Linked DNA regions of Homo sapiens: regions 2, 3 and 4 are each linked to region 1. The links are contacts of gene promoters, found by promoter capture Hi-C in blood cells and fetal thymus (Javierre and others, 2016). All regions are on one chromosome and are shown on one strand. The core of a region is centred on a gene start or on the middle of the fragment in contact, and the rest is flanking DNA. Distances in the headings are between cores, read along the strand shown.

Evidence for each region. The method cuts DNA at HindIII sites, captures the fragments that hold promoters and counts their contacts. A CHiCAGO score of 5 or more calls a contact.
Region 2: a contact is called between a fragment that was not itself captured here and the fragment with the promoter of CD1C in region 1, in 2 of 17 cell types (fetal thymus and M1 macrophages). The highest score is 12.8, in fetal thymus.
Region 3: a contact is called between a fragment that was not itself captured here and the fragment with the promoter of CD1C in region 1, in 1 of 17 cell types (fetal thymus). The highest score is 5.8, in fetal thymus.
Region 4: a fragment that was not itself captured here is called in contact with the fragment with the promoter of CD1C in region 1 in 1 of 17 cell types (fetal thymus); the score reaches 5.1 in fetal thymus.

The regions. Positions count from the first base shown.
Region 1 is chr1:158,288,115-158,292,760 of GRCh38, forward strand. It overlaps CD1C (CD1c molecule), which reads left to right and starts at 1,809. Exons shown (of 6, transcript NM_001765.3): 1 at 1,809-2,011; 2 at 3,020-3,286; 3 at 3,970-4,251; 4 at 4,482-4,646. The coding sequence starts at 1,951. It also overlaps a transcript of CD1B not described here. The HindIII fragment of the contact is 9,220 bases long and covers 1-4,646 here.
Region 2 is chr1:158,482,794-158,487,039 of GRCh38, forward strand. All of the region lies in intron 2 of LOC107985213 (a long non-coding RNA gene), which reads right to left. Among named protein-coding and RNA genes, the nearest start is that of OR10R2, 13 kb to the left of the region's middle. The HindIII fragment of the contact is 1,988 bases long and covers 520-2,507 here.
Region 3 is chr1:158,520,155-158,524,868 of GRCh38, forward strand. It overlaps the pseudogene HSP90AA3P. Among named protein-coding and RNA genes, the nearest start is that of OR6Y1, 32 kb to the right of the region's middle. The HindIII fragment of the contact is 185 bases long and covers 1,782-1,966 here.
Region 4 is chr1:158,498,358-158,503,225 of GRCh38, forward strand. No RefSeq gene overlaps it. Among named protein-coding and RNA genes, the nearest start is that of OR10R2, 29 kb to the left of the region's middle. The HindIII fragment of the contact is 6,418 bases long and covers 1-4,868 here.

The DNA of each region.
Region 1 (4,646 bases), core at 559-3,058:
AGTATTTGCCATTAACAGCACAAGATGAGCAAAGATAACACCTAGTGCTTATGAATGATTTGGGTAGGATTTGAACTGGGTATTGCTCTTAAAGATATTATAGTTCATAGAAATTGCCACATATCTGTGGCCATGATAGGAAGAGCTCATTGAGAATGACTTCTGGCCTCACTATTAACGTTGACAAACCTAAGAAATAGTGTATATATCAAAGTATCATGTTGTACACAGTAAATACATAGAATAAATATAAATTTAAAACAGAAACAATGTTACAAATGGGATTTTCCTTTTTAAGGCACGGTCTTGCTCTGTTACCCAGGCTGGAGTACAGTGACATGAACATGGCTCACTACAGCCCTGACTTTCAGGGCTCAAAAGATCTTCCTGCCTCTGCCTCCCATTTAGCTGGGACTACAGGCATGTGCCACCACATTTGGCCAACTTTTTAATTTTTTTATCGAGATGAGGTCTAACTTTGTTGCCCAGGCTGGTCTCAAACTCCTGGGCTCAAGTGATCTTCCCACCTTGGTCTCCCAAAGTGCTGGGATTACAGGCATGAGTCATTGTGCCTAGCACAAATTCATGCCCAGATTTTAAGTGACTGCTCCAATGCATTCAGTGAATAATTAATATGATTTAAGAAACACTATAATAATAAATGTATTTCCTGGATCTCAAAAAAACTGTGTTCATGTATTTACACATATTAACCAGCCAGGGTCACTGATAAGTCACTGAATACTTCATATAAACTACTTAAATCAAACATTGACAAATGCTGCCCTTTTTATACAATGTGTTTTGGTCAGATCACAAAACAACTTAAATTTGGATTTTTGTGGTCTCCCCATGTATGAGTCCTCTTGAAAAGCTGCATGTTCTGACTATCACAATCGTATACCATTCCACACTGTACAGAATTTTCAGTATTTAGTTGAGATGCATGCTGTTCTTCCAGGACTTCAAATTATGAACTTCCCAGGGGGTTAGTCAGTCAAAATGCTGCTCTAGAGAATATAGTTCTAAGTAGATTTGTATCTGGGATTCTATACATTGAAATTAAAATCACAATGCATTTTAATTTTTTGTTTAAACATCTGCAGTTTAAAACTCTTTGATAGAAGAGATTACATTGTTAACCTCTGTGTGTTTATATGCCTAGTAAGACACTGGTATCAACCATGTACTATGTAATTTTTTAGTGAATGACTATACAGATTAAATGCAGTAGAAGGGCTTCTTTATATTTGTTATGGTCCTATGCATTCTGAATGGCTGCAATTTAATCTCTAAGGATAATGTAGAGTGGACTGTAGTTTATATAATTGTGCAGGGAAATCTTGGAAGATGTAAAAAGCAACGTCTCCAATTTATAAAAGAATCAGTGAGAATGAGGAAATAAGAAAGATGGGTGAAAAGAGGTGAAATTGGAAAGAGAAAACTTTGAGGACATTCAAAAGGGGGAAAGAAAGAATGGAGTGATGAGAAGAGGGGACACTATGGAGAGTGGAGGCAAAGTTAAGTGGAGAAACTGGAAGAACTGTGATCTATTAAAACAAGCAGGAACTGAAAAAATGACATGGTTTCTCCTTTTTATCTTACAAATGACATGCAAAATCCAGAGGGACAAAATGACCTTTCTTTCAATGCCATACACCACTTTGTCTAAGGCAGTTGAGGAAGGGAAGTAGATATAATGGAGCTTAGTGGCAGAGCAGCTGGAATCCTGAGAGAAGAGAATAACTTTAGTTCAGAGCAGGTGGGGAAATGAGAGATTGAGTAGGAGGACCAAGGTTGAGGGAAGCAGATCTTCTTAGTTGCTGTCAGCGGCTGATGGGGAAGATTGTTGGTAGAAGGAAGTCAGAATATAGGTACAGAGGGATAAGTTTGCTAAGAACAGAGATCAGCAAACAGCTTTTCTGAGAGAAAGAAACATCTGCAAATGACATGCTGTTTCTGCAGTTTCTGCTGCTAGCTCTTCTTCTCCCAGGTGGTGACAATGCAGACGGTAAGAACATCGCTGTCAGCTGCAAGGTTACATGTATCTGGGTAGAGTGTGCTGGGCTTTCCCGAGATGGATCAATAGAGATGCCAGAATGCTTGCCATCTGAGCATACCTGTCTCCAGGTCCAGTTTACTCTTTTGGAGGATGGTGGCAGAGCATGGGCTCTGTGTAAGGAAAATGTTATAGCTAAAGTAGTCATTAATGTTTCTCTGTGGTAACTGGTTCAATTTCCATTTCCTCTCCATTTTCCGTTAAAACAATCAGGGCCCAGGAAAATGATGTGGTTTCTCCTTTTTATGTTACAAATGACACGCAAGGTCCAGAGGGATGAAGCAACCTTTCAATGCCACGCACCACTTTGTCTAAGGCAGTTGAGGAAGGGAAGTAGATAAGATGGAGCTTAGTGGGAGAGCAGCTAAAATCCTAAGGGAAGAGAGTAACTTTAGTTCAGAGCAGATGGGGAAATGAGAGATTGAGTAGGAGGCCTAAGGTTAAGGGAAGCAGATTGTCTTAGTTGCTGTCAGTGGCTGATGGGGAAGATTGTCTGTTGGTAGAAGGAAGTCAGAATATAGATGTAGAGGGATAAGTTTGCTAAGAACAGAGATCAGCAAATGGCTTTTCTGAGAGAAGGAAACAACTGCAAATGACATGCTGTTTCTGTAGTTTCCGCTGCTAGTTCTTCTCCTCCCCGGTGGTGACAATGCAGATAGTATGAACATCTCTGTCAGCTGCAAGGTTACATGTATCTGGGTTGAGCATGATGGGCTTTCCCAAGATGGATCAATGAAGAAGCCAGAATGGTTGCCATTTGAGCATACCTCTCTCCAGGTCCAGTTTACTCTTTTAGAGGATGGTGGCAGAGCATGGGGCTCTGTGTAAGGAAAATGGTATAGCTAAAGTAGTCATTAATGTTTCTCTGTGGTAACTGGTTCACCTTCCATTTTCTCTCCATTTTCCTTGCCTCTCTTTTTTTTTTTTTCCTTACACTACTTGCCCTTCTTCCACCAAAAGCATCCCAGGAACACGTCTCCTTCCATGTCATCCAGATCTTCTCATTTGTCAACCAATCCTGGGCACGAGGTCAGGGCTCAGGATGGCTGGACGAGTTGCAGACTCATGGCTGGGACAGTGAATCAGGCACAATAATTTTCCTGCATAACTGGTCCAAGGGCAACTTCAGCAATGAAGAGTTGTCAGACCTAGAGTTGTTATTTCGTTTCTACCTCTTTGGATTAACTCGGGAGATTCAAGACCATGCAAGTCAAGATTACTCGAAATGTAAGTTCAATCATCTAAATTATGGGAGTTCTTTAGAATGTTCTATTTCAGGGAAATATTCTCTACTAATTTTTGGGCCATTTCCCATTATCCCATCCCACCATAAAATTCTGCATAGATGAACCTTTTAAGGGATATTCCTGATGTTGACTCCCTCAAATTTCCTAGGCTCTTGCTATTTTTGGAATTTTTTTTCTTGTGCTTTGTTATCTTCCACCTGTGGTCTCCCTCTGTATCCTACAATCCAGAGATACACAGCTGTCCCACTCTGTGCTTGACTCCCTTAAAATAAAATCTATTCCCCCATTCAATTTCTTCAAAGATCTATGTCCACAGTTCAATGACCATTATGACCAATTTCATGCGTCATGGAATGCTATCCTCCTACCTCCCTCACAAAGGCTCCCCCTTCACCCTCTATCCTATATTATGTGGCTCACCTATCATTTTTCCACATCTTCCTTGGCCACTTTTTCTTGTTAATTCAAGGCATTTATCTCTTATTGTCCCCTTCCCTATCCCCAGCAATTTTTCTCTCTTGTTTCTGATCAAATATGTCTTTGGCTCACTCTCACATCCATGTAAAACTTTCTTGCTTCACTTCCTGATACAGCCCTAGGTTTTTATACTGTTGTTTTCACTTTTTTGTTTGAACTCTTTTTCTCATTCCTCCCTTCCTCCAGATCCCTTTGAAGTACAGGTGAAAGCGGGCTGTGAGCTGCATTCTGGAAAGAGCCCAGAAGGCTTCTTTCAGGTAGCTTTCAACGGATTAGATTTACTGAGTTTCCAGAATACAACATGGGTGCCATCTCCAGGCTGTGGAAGTTTGGCCCAAAGTGTCTGTCATCTACTCAATCATCAGTATGAAGGCGTCACAGAAACAGTGTATAATCTCATAAGAAGCACTTGCCCCCGATTTCTCTTGGGTCTCCTGGATGCAGGGAAGATGTATGTACACAGGCAAGGTCAGTAGTTTCAGCCCCTTCCTCTAAGATTTTTCTATTCAAGTACTGCCCCTTCTGTTCCCACCCTTCAAACTCAGGACAAGAAAGAGGACAAGAAGCAGGGGGGTTGCTGGGTAATAGTTTCTTAGAGGCAGGAAAAAGATAACTGTGCATATTCATGTGGATGTGTGTATGTGGATGTAAGTTGTGTGTAAGTTTCTTCATCAGAACACTTTTTCTGCTCTCTGCAGTGAGGCCAGAAGCCTGGCTGTCCAGTCGCCCCAGCCTTGGGTCTGGCCAGCTGTTGCTGGTTTGTCATGCCTCCGGCTTCTACCCAAAGCCTGTTTGGGTGACATGGATGCGGAATGAACAGGAGCAACTGGGCACTAAACATGGTGATATTCTTCCTAATGCTG
Region 2 (4,246 bases), core at 264-2,763, 190 kb after region 1:
GTGTCCAACACTAATGTATAGAATATTTTCTGCAGCATGCCGACATGAATGTGATTCAAAACATTTTTTTCTATCTTACTATATGGCTCTAGTTTCCTACCATCCTGGCATATAGGTCTCTTGAATTCCTTTTTTTATTAGTAGAAACAAGAAAGAGTTAAAATTATGTTTAAAAGATATTATAATAATAAACAGTAGAATAATACTTCTACAGGAAAATAATTTGCAGTGACAAAATGGCCTTGTTTGCCATCATCATACTATAGCCATCATTAATTAAAAAGGCAGTAGAAGATAAACATAAATTTGCCATTCTGTGCACCACATTTCTTTACTTACAGCTTATAAAGTGGGATCCTATGGAGAATGGTCCTGTACCGGCCTAAGAATCAAAAAAGGTCTTATTTGAAAAGATTATCTCCTTCTTTGTCCAATGTCTACCATCAAAGTTTTTTTTATTTTCACCTGTTTCATGAAGTATTACCTGATTTCCATTCTTCAAAACACCATAGCATTGTAAGCTTTACTTATACTTCTTACTGAGCTCTGACATATTGAGCTGATTATGTACATATCTTATTTTCTCTAATGGACAATCAACAACGTGAAAGGAAGTAATTTATTATACCGATACATTAACTCCTCCTAAATGTCTTTTATATCCCTGACATTCAGGAGATAACTAATACATGTCTCTTAACTTTAATTGAATAAATGACTTCTTGGTCTAGCTAAGAAAAACATCTGAAACTACATGTGAAAGTGTAGCAATATTTATGTCCCCCATAACAGTAATTAAAAATAACAATGACAATGATAATTTATTTTGCTCATTAATCTCTTAAATGGGAGAGGGCTTATAAGATTGGCTTGTCTTAACTCCATACAATGTCAACTGAGCTGCTCAACTAGAATTGAGGGACCCACTTCCATTTGGCTCATTTACACGGCTGGCAAAATGATGCTGATTTGTAGTGGAGCTGAGTCAGGGCTATAGGTTGTGAGAGTCAGTATCTCTCCATGTGGCCCTTTTCATGGGGTTCTATAAACTTTCTCACAACATCATGACTGGTTTCAAAGACTAAACATTCCAAGAAACAGAAAGAGGAAGCTGCTAGTCTTTTAAGGCATAATACCAGCAGGTTGTCTGCTCCTGACACCCAAAAAGACAATGATGTGATGGGCATAGGAATAGCAATGGACATTCCCTTGTGAAAAAGGAGGAAATTAGACACATCACAGTCATTGGTCCATAGAAATTCTGAAATTCATCTGGACACTGTTGCCAGTCCTATTTTCTGGGAATGAATTCCATGACTCTTAGATCTAACCTGTGATGCCATTTCCCCACTTTCTGATCATCCTTTTTTATCTGCAAGACATAGCTACAATTTGCAGACATGTCATTTCTTAGTCTGATACCTCCATGGAAGAAGTTGAGGGTCCAAAGGTCTATTCATTTCTGTTTGCTCTGTAGCCTTTAGCACATGTTGATAGAATGCCTTTTTAAAACTTGGTGAGTTTCTTATGTTTCAGTTTATAAATTAATTCCATTAGATAAAAGTCACATCCATATTCATTTCTTTATTATGGGTCACTTGTGAGGTAGCAGTATTAATAACTGCTGTATGGCAATTCCCTTAAGATTCTTAAAAAGACTTATTGCTTAACTTTAAGGAGTCAGGCCCTTAGGATATTTATAAATCTTGTTGGGTATAGCCTAAAATATTTCTGAGTTCTAACAAAAAGTATTACAGCTACATTCTTAAGAGGTTTACCCTGAGGCATTGGTTTCCTGATAGCACCTTGGATTTGATTTCTTCCTTGAAGCCATTTTGTACCTTGAGAGTCTTTGTTGAGAGAGACTGTGCATGAGAAACATCTTTATTTGCAAACCCAACAAGTTTTGTTTCTTTCTGTTTCCTCTAAATTCTCAGAAACTTAAGAAACTTTAAAAAATTATGTACTTTTAAATTGACAAATAGTCATTGTTCATATTCCTTAGGTGCATAGTAATATTCTGATATAAATAATGTTATAGGGATCAGATCAAGGTAATTAGCATATCATCATCTCAAACATTTATCATTTCTTCATGTTGGGAATGTTCAACACCCTCCTTCTGGCAATTTGAATCTATACATTACTGTTAACTATAGTCATCCTACAGTAGCAAAGAACACTGTAACTTATTCCTTTATCTAGCTGTAATTTTGTATCCTTTAGCAAATCTCCACCTATCCTTCCCTTTTCTCTACTATTCCCTTCCTCTAGTATCCTGCTGTCTACTCTCTTTTCATATTTTATCATTGGTTGGAATTTTCTATAGTCTTCCTAGAAATTTACCCAGGAAGATAATGAGATTACTAAATAGTCTATTTTCCAGGCTGTAGCATGTGGTCCTGCTGCCAAACTTTAGAGCAATGGATAATAAGTATCCATGTTTTACCTAAGTATGATAACAGTTTCCTCTCTGTCCTTCAAATATTTTTCTCTCTGTGCTTCAAAGCTTTACCAAGAGTTGCCTTATGATCCTTTCACCTTTTAGTAAGAGACTCCTTAAGTCCTTATGGATTATTTATACCACCAATTGCAAAATTAATGCCAAATGTTTTAAATGTTGATTATAACAGCACCCTGCCTTTAGATACCAAATTCTGTTCTCATTATTTACTGCTGCATAATCAACTCTCTACAACTTTAGTTGCTTAAATGAGCTGTAATTATTTTGCACACAAGTCTGCAATTTTGGCAGGGCTCAGTGGGGACAGCTGGAATTTGTTCTTTGTCCCAGCAGGTTGGATGATTCAATTGGGGCTGAAGGATTTACTTTCAAGATTGCTCACTTATGTGCCTGTTTTATTCGTGTTAGCTATTGGTTGTTTGCTCAGCTGGGGCTATTGGCCAGGAGCCTTGGTTTTTTACCATATAGATTCTCCAAGGGCTGTTTGGGCTTCCTCAAAACATGGTTACTAGGGTACAAAAGTAGATGATTCAACACTCCATAAGTAGCAGCTACAAGACTTTAGAGACTAGGGTTAATAAACGGATACAGTCTTACATTTACTATAATTTATTTGTCAAAGTAGTCACTCTTCCTATCTGGATTCAGGGGAAGGAGGAAGCCACCAAAAGTTCCTGTCTGGGTTAATCACTTGGGCTTTTCTCTTGTTTTCTCATTGCTGCAGCATCTTTTTTTAAAAAAAATTAATTTAATTTAAAGTTCTGGGATCCATGTGCAGGATGTGCAGGTTTGTTACATAGGTAAACATGTGTCATGGTGGTGTGCTGCACCTATCAACTCATCGCCTAGGTATTAAGCCCAGCTGCATTAGCTATTTATCCTGATGCTCTCCCTTCCCCTGCCCCTCAACCATAGGCCCCAGTATGTGTTATTTCCCTCCCTGTGTCCATGTATTCTCATTGTTCAGCTCTGACTTATAAGTGAGAACATGCGGGACATGACTTATACGAGAGCAGTTCACGTGAGCACCTTAGAGAGACGTCCATGCATGTCTAGCATTTGACCCATTTCCAGCCCAAGTGGATGGACTCACTGTCAGAAAGAATCGATATGTGAGCTGAAATGGGGAGAAAGCTGATGGGCTTTGTGAAAACCTACATGAAGGCATTGTCACACTTTTCTCTATAACCCAAACTGTATTCATATACTGAGGAAATATTTACCAAATTCACATTATATTCCAGAAGCAAACCTGTTTCTAATGTATCTGAAAGATTCTGCCATTCTAATATTCTGTCCTCTATTCTTTATATCTTCTTCTCTTTTAGCTTTCAGAAATAGGAATGTGTAGCAGCATAAAAAAGAATACTTTTCTTCAACTTCAGAACGAAACTCTAGAGGCACTATGTAGGGAAATTCAAAGGAGATAGTTTCATTGATGTATATTTTAACAAATGTTGCCTGGAGAATCTCCACATCTCTGACTCCTTAGAGAATTTCCAAGAGGAAGTCAACTAATCCCCATGAATAATAGGGCTTTTTCTTTGGCCAATGAATTCTCATAGTGTATTATCATGGTTCCACATGCTAATTAGAAAAATTATGGACAAGTATTGGGCACAATGTGGTAATTAGCTCCCTGTGGAGATGGCGAGCTCACTTACCAACCAAGGCATTGAGACCATGGCTAATGTAAAAAGGAAAGGCCATTGATGACACCCATTGAGGCACTACCTAAAGCACCCATGGAGACAGGGCACAGGTAACATTTTTCTCTGGAGT
Region 3 (4,714 bases), core at 624-3,123, 230 kb after region 1:
GTATTAAGGAGACTAGATTAGATAAAGATTAGAGTATAGAGAAGACAAAGGGGCCATTTCAAGACAGATAACTAAAGAGAAGGGATTAGCACACACATAGGGAGGTCTAATAGCTGCAAAGGGATCTCCTCAAATCTTTGGAAGAGTGCTAATTCGTACATTTGTTAGAGTAAACTTCTTGTAGAAGATGAACAACTACTGGAAGCAATAGACTAAACAAGTCCTAGAGTTCACACAAAGAAGAGTTTATATTCCCAACAGCCATCAAGTATAATTAATAGAAATAAAAAATATTATCTGAATTTTAAAAATACATTAAGCAGGATTAGCTGCAGACACTGCCAAAGAAAAGGTCAATTAACTTAAACACATAGCCAACAAAACAACCTGTAATTATAGCAAAACTTCAAAAACCCCAAATAACGACAACAACAACAAAACAAAAACAGAGGCTTGATGACTACGGTAAAGTGCCAAGCTGTCAAATATTCATGTAATTGAGATCCCTTATAAACCCCCAAACCCAAAAATGTCAGAAATTTCAAGCAGAATAAAAACCAAAATTATGCTAGAACATATAAGAATATAAGAATTCAATTATTAAAAACTAATGATAAAAAGAAAATTTTAAAAATAGTGAGAGACAAAAGGAGAGAAAGATGGTGAAACAGAAAGCCCACTGCTTACATTCCTTGACAGCAGCAATAAGTTCACAGCCATCAATGGGAAAATACCTCTTTGTGGGAGCCTTGAGATTTAGATAGGAGATTGTGAAACCCTAGTGAAGATCAAGATGTAGGAAAGCCATTTTGAGGGGGCAGACCTGCCAACAGTGGTCTCAGCTCTAGACTTAGCAATGGCCTTGTTTTATTGTGGACTTGGATACAGCCTTATTTTGCCATCAGTCAAGGAGCCCAGGAGGAGTCACATATACTAGTGCTTCAGAAAACAAGCTTGTTGACCTCGGTCCCAGGTGTGGAACTTGAAATGGCTCTGAAACTCAACTCCAGGCATTAATAGCTGTGGTCTGAGAGTAGGCTTGTCCATTCAAGAACCAAGAGAAGGACGAGCTTGTCTATGACCCTCAGAGGCAGACCTGCTGCCATCAGTCTCACAGAGGATCCTGACACAGCCTTGTAACTTGGATTCATCCCCTCTCAGGTGTGGTCTGAGGGCAGTTTTGCCTGACCAGGGACCAAATGGGGGATACACCAAACCTTGACCTCAGAGGCAGGCCTGCAGATCTTTGTCTTTACTGCAGCCCTGTGACTTATATTCATCTCCTCTCAACTGTAGGCCAGGACAAGTACTGCCTGCAAAGGGACCTACCCAGTCACTTAATGGGAGCTCTCCCAAAGACCTGGAGGAAACCATACCCATCCACAAACCTAGTAACAGGCCTACCATCTGTGGACTCTGAAATGGATCCTCATTCTAGCACCAACCCTACTGCCCAATGTACTGGAGGTAATTCAGTCCACCCGGGGGGAACCAGACAGAATCCATACCCACTGGAGGCCCTGGTAACAGGTCTATTAAGCACAGATCCCATTGTAGATGAAGAGGCAGCCACATGATCTAGCTCGAAACCCACTTTACTAGGATCCTGGGGGCAATCTCACCAGCATAGAGGCTCAACAGGAGAAAGCTTTTATCTGCCAAAAGCAGTGTTTAAATGCCAGAAAAGATGTTTATTCAGACATCAATGCGCAGACATCAATGCAATCTATACAGATAATGAAGAATTAGGCAAATGTGACACCACCAAAAGAAACTAGTAAAGCTTCAGTAGTAAATCACAAAGAAATAGAGATCTAGGAATTGCCTGAGAAAGAATTCAAAATAACCATCTTAAGGATCTTGAAGAAATGCAAGGAAATGCACATAGAAAATGAATTGAAATTAGAAAAACAATAATAAACTACCGGTGTCTCAGAAGGAAAAAGAAGCAAATAAAGAGGCATAAAGCTTATTTAAAGAAATACTGGCTGAAAACTTCCAAAATCATGGGAGAGACATAGACTCAATACAGTTTCATGGAAATCAAAATGTCCAAACAATATCAACCCCAACAGTAACACTCTGAAGCACATTATAATCAACTTATTATAAGTCAAACACAAAAAGAGACTTTTGAAAGCAGCAGTAAAAAGAAACTTGTCACCTAAAAGGGAACCCCTTTAAGGATATCAGCAGACTTGGCAAAAACAAAACAAAACCTAAAAAAAAAAATTTTATATGCCCGGATGGTGTGGGATGATATAGCCAAAGAGCAGAAAGAAAAAAATAAAAACTGCCCAAGAATACTATACGTAAAAAATCTCTCTCAGAAATGAAGCAGAAATAAAGACATACTCAGACAAAGGTAACACAGGAATGGAAAACCAAACATTGCATGTTCTCACTCATAAGTAGGAGTTGAACAATGAGGATACATGGACACAGGGAGGGGAACAACACACACCACGGCCCGTGTGGGGTTGGGGGGCAAGGGGAGGGAGGGAGAGCATTAGGACAAATAGCTAATGCATGCAGGGCTTAAAATTTAGATGACGGGTTGGTAGGTGCAGCAAACCACCATGGCACACATATACTTATGTAACAAACCTACACATTCTGCACTTGTATCCCGGAACTTAAAGTAAAATGTAAAAAAAAAAAAAAAAAAAAAAAAAAATACTAGAGTTCTTCAAGTTGTAACAAAAAGATGTTAAAGCCAGGTGCCGTGGCTCATGCCTGTAATCCCATCACTTAGGGAAGCCAAGGTGGGAGGATCATTTGACCTCAGGAGTGTAAGACCAGCCTGTGTAACATAGCGACATCACATCTCTAAAATAAAGAAATAGATAACATGAAACATTTTTAAGAAGTTAATAGTTAAAAAAGCCACTAGTAAAAGTAAATAGTCAAATCTGGAATAATCTAATACTGTAATGGCACTGTGTAAATCATTTTAAATTCTATTATAAAAGCTTAAAACACAGAAATATTGAAAATAACTATATCTATTCTAATTTGGCAATGAATACACAATCTAGAAAGATGTGAAGTGTGACATGAATAACATAAAATGTGGGCAGAGTGAAGTAAAAGTGTAGAGTTTTTGTATGCAATTTCAGTTGTTAGCAGCTTAAATTAGAATGTTATAATTATAAGATGTTTTATATAAGCCCCATGATAACCAAGTAGAAAAACAACTCTAGTTGATACATAAAAAACAAAGACATGAATCAAAGTGTGCACCTATCAAAATTCAACAAATTATAAAGAAAGATAGGAAGATTGGAAAAAAGAAATAAAAGAACTACAAAGCAGTCAGCAAAAATCAAAATGCCGGTAGTAAATCCTTTACCTATCAATAATTACTTTAAATGTAAATGAATTACATTTTCCAGTCAAAAGATACAGAGTGGCTGAATGGATTTTAAGAAAAATAAATAAATAAAAAATAAAAGCCGAGGTGCTTCAGCATCCTGGTACTGATGTGCTGTGGAGCCCTTGTGGTCCCTTAGCCAAGATGCCTGAGGAAACCGAGACCCAAGACAAATCGATGGAGGAGGAGGAGGTTGAGACATTCACCTTTCAGGCAGAAATTGCCCAGTTGATGTCACTGATCATCAATACTTTCTACTCGAAGAAAGAGATCTTTCTGAGAGAACTAATTTCAAATTCATCAGATGCATTGGACAAAATCTGATATGAAAGGTTGATGGATTCCAGTAAATTAGACTCTGGGAAAGGGCTGCATATTAACCTTGTACCAAACAAACAAAATCAAACCCTCACTATTGTGGACACTAGAATTGGAATGACCAAGACTGACTTGATCAATAACCTCGGTACTGTCACCAAGTCTGGGACCAAAGCATTCATGGAAGCTTTGCAGGCTGATGCAGATATCTCTATGATTGGCCATTTCGGGGTTGGTTTTTATTCTGCTTATTTGGTTGCCAAGAAAGTAACTGTGATCAGCAAACATAACAATGATGAGCAGTACACCTGGGAGTCCTCAGCAGGGGGATCATTCACAGTGAGGACAGACGAGTGAACCTATGGGTCGTGGAACAAAGGTTATCCTACACCTGAAGGAAGACCAAATGAGTACTTGGAGGAATGAAGAATAAAAACATTTTTGAAGAAACATTCTCAGTTTATTGGATATCCCATTACTCTTTTTGTGGAGAAGGAACATGATAAAGAAGTCAGAGATGATGAAGCTGAAGAAAAGGAAGATAAAGAAGAAGAAAATGAAAAAGAAGAGAAAGAGTCCGAAGACAAACCTGAAATTGAAGATGTTGGTTCTGATGAAGAAGAAGAAGAAAAGAAGGATGGTGACAAAAAGAATAAGAAGATTAAGGAAAAGTACATCGATCAAGAAAAACTCAACAAAACAAAGCCCATCTGGACCAGAAATCCTGATGATATTACTAATGAGGAGTAAGAATTCTACAAGAGCTTGACCAATGACTGGGAAGATCATTGGCAGTGAAGCATTTTTCAGTTGAAGGACACTTGGAATTCAGAGCCCTTCTATTTGTCCCACAACATGCTCCTTTTGACTTGTTTGGAAAGAGAGAGAAAAAGAACATCAAATTGTATGTACACAGAGTTTCCATCACGGATAACTGTGAGGAGCTAATCCCTGCGTATCTGAACTTCATTGGAAAGGTGGTGGACTCAGAGGATCTCCGTCTAAATATTTCCCATGAGATGT
Region 4 (4,868 bases), core at 1,419-3,918, 210 kb after region 1:
GCAACTTTTCTGCTGATTTCAAATGCGTTAAAAGTTGTACAACAGAATATCCAGCCTGTATTTGTTTTAAAATACTTAAAAAAAATCAAGAAATATTTATTAAGCTACACTTTAAAATACCATTTATATTAGTATAAAGATGAATAAATAGATTAATGGAACAAAACAGAACATTCAGAAATAGAAACACATATGTATAGTTAATTTTCTACAAGGCTCTCAAGGCAATTTATTATAAAAATGATATTGAAAATGAAAAAAGATATAGAACATTTCCATTACCCCTAAATTTTCTCACATGCCCCATCCCATTGTGTCCCCTATACCACCATCAGCCGCAGGAAACCAATGATTTGCTTTCTATTGCCAGAATTTAGTTTGACAATAAAGAATCTTATCAAAATAAAATAACAATTTGCTTTCTAACTTCTTATCACTAAGCATACTTTTGAGGTTTATCCGTTATGTGTGTGACTTCGCAGTTCATTCTTTTTGTACCATTGTGTATATATACACAATGGTTTTATTTTCTTACACTCTCAACAGAAACGTATGACAGTTACCAGTTGCTTAACATTCTCAACAAAATGTGTTAGTCTTAATTTCATACATTAAGTAGATGCATAATAGTATCCAATTGTGGTTAGAATTAAAAGTTTTTTTTGATGACTGAAGACACTGAATATATTTTTTTGTGTGTATATTGGTCATCTACATATTTTTTAGTTGAGCGTCTTTTCAGATCTTTTGTCCATTCCTCAGTTAGAGGCATATTTTCTTCTTTCCAATATTTTAATTAGTTCCTTTGTCTTCATAATTGAAATGTAAGAGTTCTTTATGTTTTCCAGGTATATATATTTTTGTTACTTGTATATTACGCAAATATTTTCACTATATTGTAACTTGCTTTTAATTTTCTACCATGTCTTTTGAAGAGCAGAAGTTTCCTTTGGTTTTGATAAAGTCCAACTTATTGACTTTGACTTTTATAGTTCAAGTGTTTTCTGTCATACTTAATAAGTTTCTGAAAAATTCAAGCTCACTAAGGTTCTATCTAATGTTCTTTTTAATAATATTAGTTCTTACAAGCAGGATGTGATTCATCTCTAGTTAATTTTTGTAAATGGTGTGAAAAAATTTCAAGATTCTTTTCTATCCAAATGCATTATTATTGGAAAGAGTATTCTTCTACCATTAAATTGCCTTGAGGCTTTGTAGAAAATTAATTATACATATGTGTTTCTATTTCTGAGTGTTCTGTTTTGTTCCATTAATCTATTTGTTCATCTTTATACTAATACTAAAAGTATAGCTTAATAAACATTTCTTGAAATCAATGTAATGCCTTCTGGATTCTGCCCTCTTAGTCCTCATGGGAAGCCATCCATAAGGAAGAGCTATACTTTAGAACTTGCTGGAAAACCACTCTCTGAAGTACTCTGTGGGTGGGGGGCATCTATGGGAGGATGCTTCTGTTTGCAACCTTCTGGCAAAATACCTTTGATGATGGTACTGCCTGGGAAGTAGCACTACTGGGCGTCCTACTTGTTACTAGACTTCACACACACAGCATGTCCAGGCAGATGAAAGCAGCCAGAAATGGGAAGAGAACTCCGTTTTAACTTCAGTGTCCCTTCACGCCTTCTACAGAAGAGCTTAACATCATGTCTGCTGGTAAAGGAGAAACATTCCAGTAACACAATCAGGACAAGTAAAGGTAGATTTGGAGCTAAAAGGCAATTACATTCTTAATTTTCTTTCTTTTTAAAATTTTGACAGAATTTAGATTTATTCATCCCTATGAGCCCTAGAATTATGTTAATGTCAGGAGATGTTTATAAAATATACTCCACTAAAATTTTTCTGAAAATTCTAACAAGGACATTTGAAACAAGGGTTACATAGGTCAATTACAATTTCACTCAGAAAAAACAATAGCACTCTTGATTTATTCAGTAGTTGTTTTTTAATATAGCATGAGTCACAAATAAGCTAGTTTTTCAACTAGGTCAACACTGACTTTTTTTGTGTGTGATAAGAACATTTAACATGAATCCACCCCCTGATCAAAAGGTATTGGTAACTGTAATCATATATTATGCCATTCTTGCATTGCTATAAAGAAATACCTGAGATTGGGTAATTTATAAAGAAAAGTGGTTTTGTTGGCTCATGATTTGCAGAATTTACAGGAAGCATGGTGCTGGCATCCACTTGGCTTCTGGTGAAGGCTCAGGGAACTTTCAATCATGGTGGAAGGTGAAGCAGGAGCGGGCACATCACATGACCAGAACAGGAGAGAGAGAGTTGGGGGAAGGTGCTGCAAATTTTGAAATGGCAAGATCTTGTGAGAACTTACTCACTATCATAAAAATAGACCAAGTCATGCGAAGTTCACCCCCATGACCGAAACACCTCCCACCTTCAGCACTGGTGATTACAATTCAACGTAAGATTTGTGTGGGGACAAATATCCAAACTATATCAATATTTCTCCGGCTCCTCCCAAATCTATGTCCTTCTCACATTGCAAAATATATTTATGCCTTCCTAAGAGTCCTCCAAAGTTTTAACTTGTTCCAGTGTTAACTCACAAGTCCGAAGTCCAGAGTCTCATCTTTGACAAGGAAAGTCCCTTTCATTCATGAACCTATAAAATCAAAACCAAGTTATTTACTTCCAAGATACAATAGGGATACAGGTATTGGGTAAACGTTGCTATCCTAAAAGAAAGAAATTGGCCAAAAAAATAGGGGCTATAGGCCCCAAGCAAGTCCTAAAGCCAGGAGGGCAGTCATTAAATCTTAAAGCTCCAAAATAATATCCTTTGACTCCATATTCTACATCCAGGTCACACTGCTGCAAGCTCCTCAGAGAGGTGTCAGTCATGGCTCTCAAGGCTTAGGGCAGCTGTATCCCTATGGCTTTGCAGGGTTGAATACCCATGGCTGTTTCCACGGGTTGGTGTTGAGTGTTCTTGGCTTTTCCAGGTGCAGAGGGCAAGCTGACAGTGGATCTTCCTTTCTGGGGTCTGGAGGATGGCGGTCCCCTTCTCACAGCTCCACTAGGCAGTGCCCCAGTGGGAACTCTGGGGCGGGGGGCAAACCCACATTTCCCCTCTGCATTGCCATAGTAGAGGTTCCCTGTGGGGTTCCCCACCCCTGCAGCAGGCCTCTGTCTGGGCACTCAGGCTTTTCCATATGTCCTCTGAAATCTAGGCAGATGGTGCAAATTCTCATTCACTCTGAACTCTGTGTGCCTACAGGCTTAAAATCATGTGCAAATTGCCAAGGCTTACAGTGGCTTGAACTCTCCAAAGTAGCATGTTGAGCAGTACCTGGGCCCCTTTGAGCCCCAGTTGAAGCTGGAGCAGCAGGATGCAGGGAGCAGTGTCATGAAGCTGTGTGTGTGGCAGTAGGGATTCTGGGCCTTTAATGGAAGGGGCTGCCACAGAGGTCTCTGAGATGCCTTCAAGGCTTTTCCCCCATTGTCTTGACTATCAGCACTTGGCTCCTTCATAGGTATGCAAATTTCTTTTTTTTTCTTTTTTTTTTTTTTTTTTTGAGATGGAGTCTTGCTCTGTCACCCAGGCTGGAGTGCAGTGGCATGATCTCGGCTCACTGCAAGCTATGCCTCCCAGGTTCACGCCATTCTCCCGCCTCAGCCAGAGTAGCTGGGACTACAGGCGCCCACCACCGCACCCAGCTAATTTTTTTTTTGTATTTTTAGTAGAGATGGGGTTTCACCATGTTAGCCAGGACAGTCTCGATCTACTGACCTTGTGATCCGTCCACCTCAGCCTCCCAAAGTGCTGGGATTACAGGCGTGAGCCACCACGCCTGACCCACTTAAGTATGCAAATTTCTTTAGTAAAGTGGTTGTTCCACAACCTGCTTGAATTCTTCTCCCCTCAAGAGCTTTTTCTTCCTTTGCCACATTGCCAGGCTGCAGATTTCTCAAACTTTTATTCTCTACTTTCCTTTTAAATATAAGTTTCAGCTTTAAGGTATTCCTTTGTGCCCACATCTGAGTTAGGTTGTTAGAAGCAGCCAGGCCACATCTTGAATGCTTGGCTGCTTAGAAATTTCCTTCATCAGATACCCTAAATTATCATTTCAAAACTTTAACTTCCGCAGATCCCTAGGGCATGAACAGAAGGCAGCCAAGTTCTTTGCTAAGGCATATCAAAAGTGACCTTTACTTCAGTTCCCAGTATGTTCCTCATTTCCATCTGAGGCCTCCTCAGTCTGGACTTCACTGTCTATATCACACGTCAGCATTTGGGTTACAACCATTTTACCAGTCTCTAAGAAGTTCTAAACTAAACCTCAACTTCCGTCTTCTTTTGAGCCCTCAAACTCTTCCATTCTATGCCCATTACCCAGTTCCAAAGCTGCTTCTACACTTTCAGATATCTTTATTGTAATACCCCACTCCTCTGTACCAATTTCTTGTGTTATCCCATTCTTGCCTTGCTATAAAGAAATACCTGAGACTGGGTAATTTATAAAGAAAAGAGGTTTAATTGGCCCATGGTTCTGCAAACTTTACAGAAAGCATGGTGCTGGCAACTGCTTAGCTTCTGGTAAAGCCTCAAGGAGCTTTCAATCATGGCAAAAGGTAGTGGGAGCAGGCACATCACTTGGCCAGAGCAGGAGCAAGAGAGAGACAGAGTGGAAGGGAAAGTGCAACACTTTAAACTGACCATATCTTTTGAGAACTCACCTCACTATCACAAAGAAAGTACCAAGCTATGAGGGACTCATCCCCATGATCCAAACACCTCCCACCAGGTCCCACTTCCAGCATTGGGGATTTATAATTCAACATGAGATTTAGGTGGAAACAAATATTCAGACTATATCAAA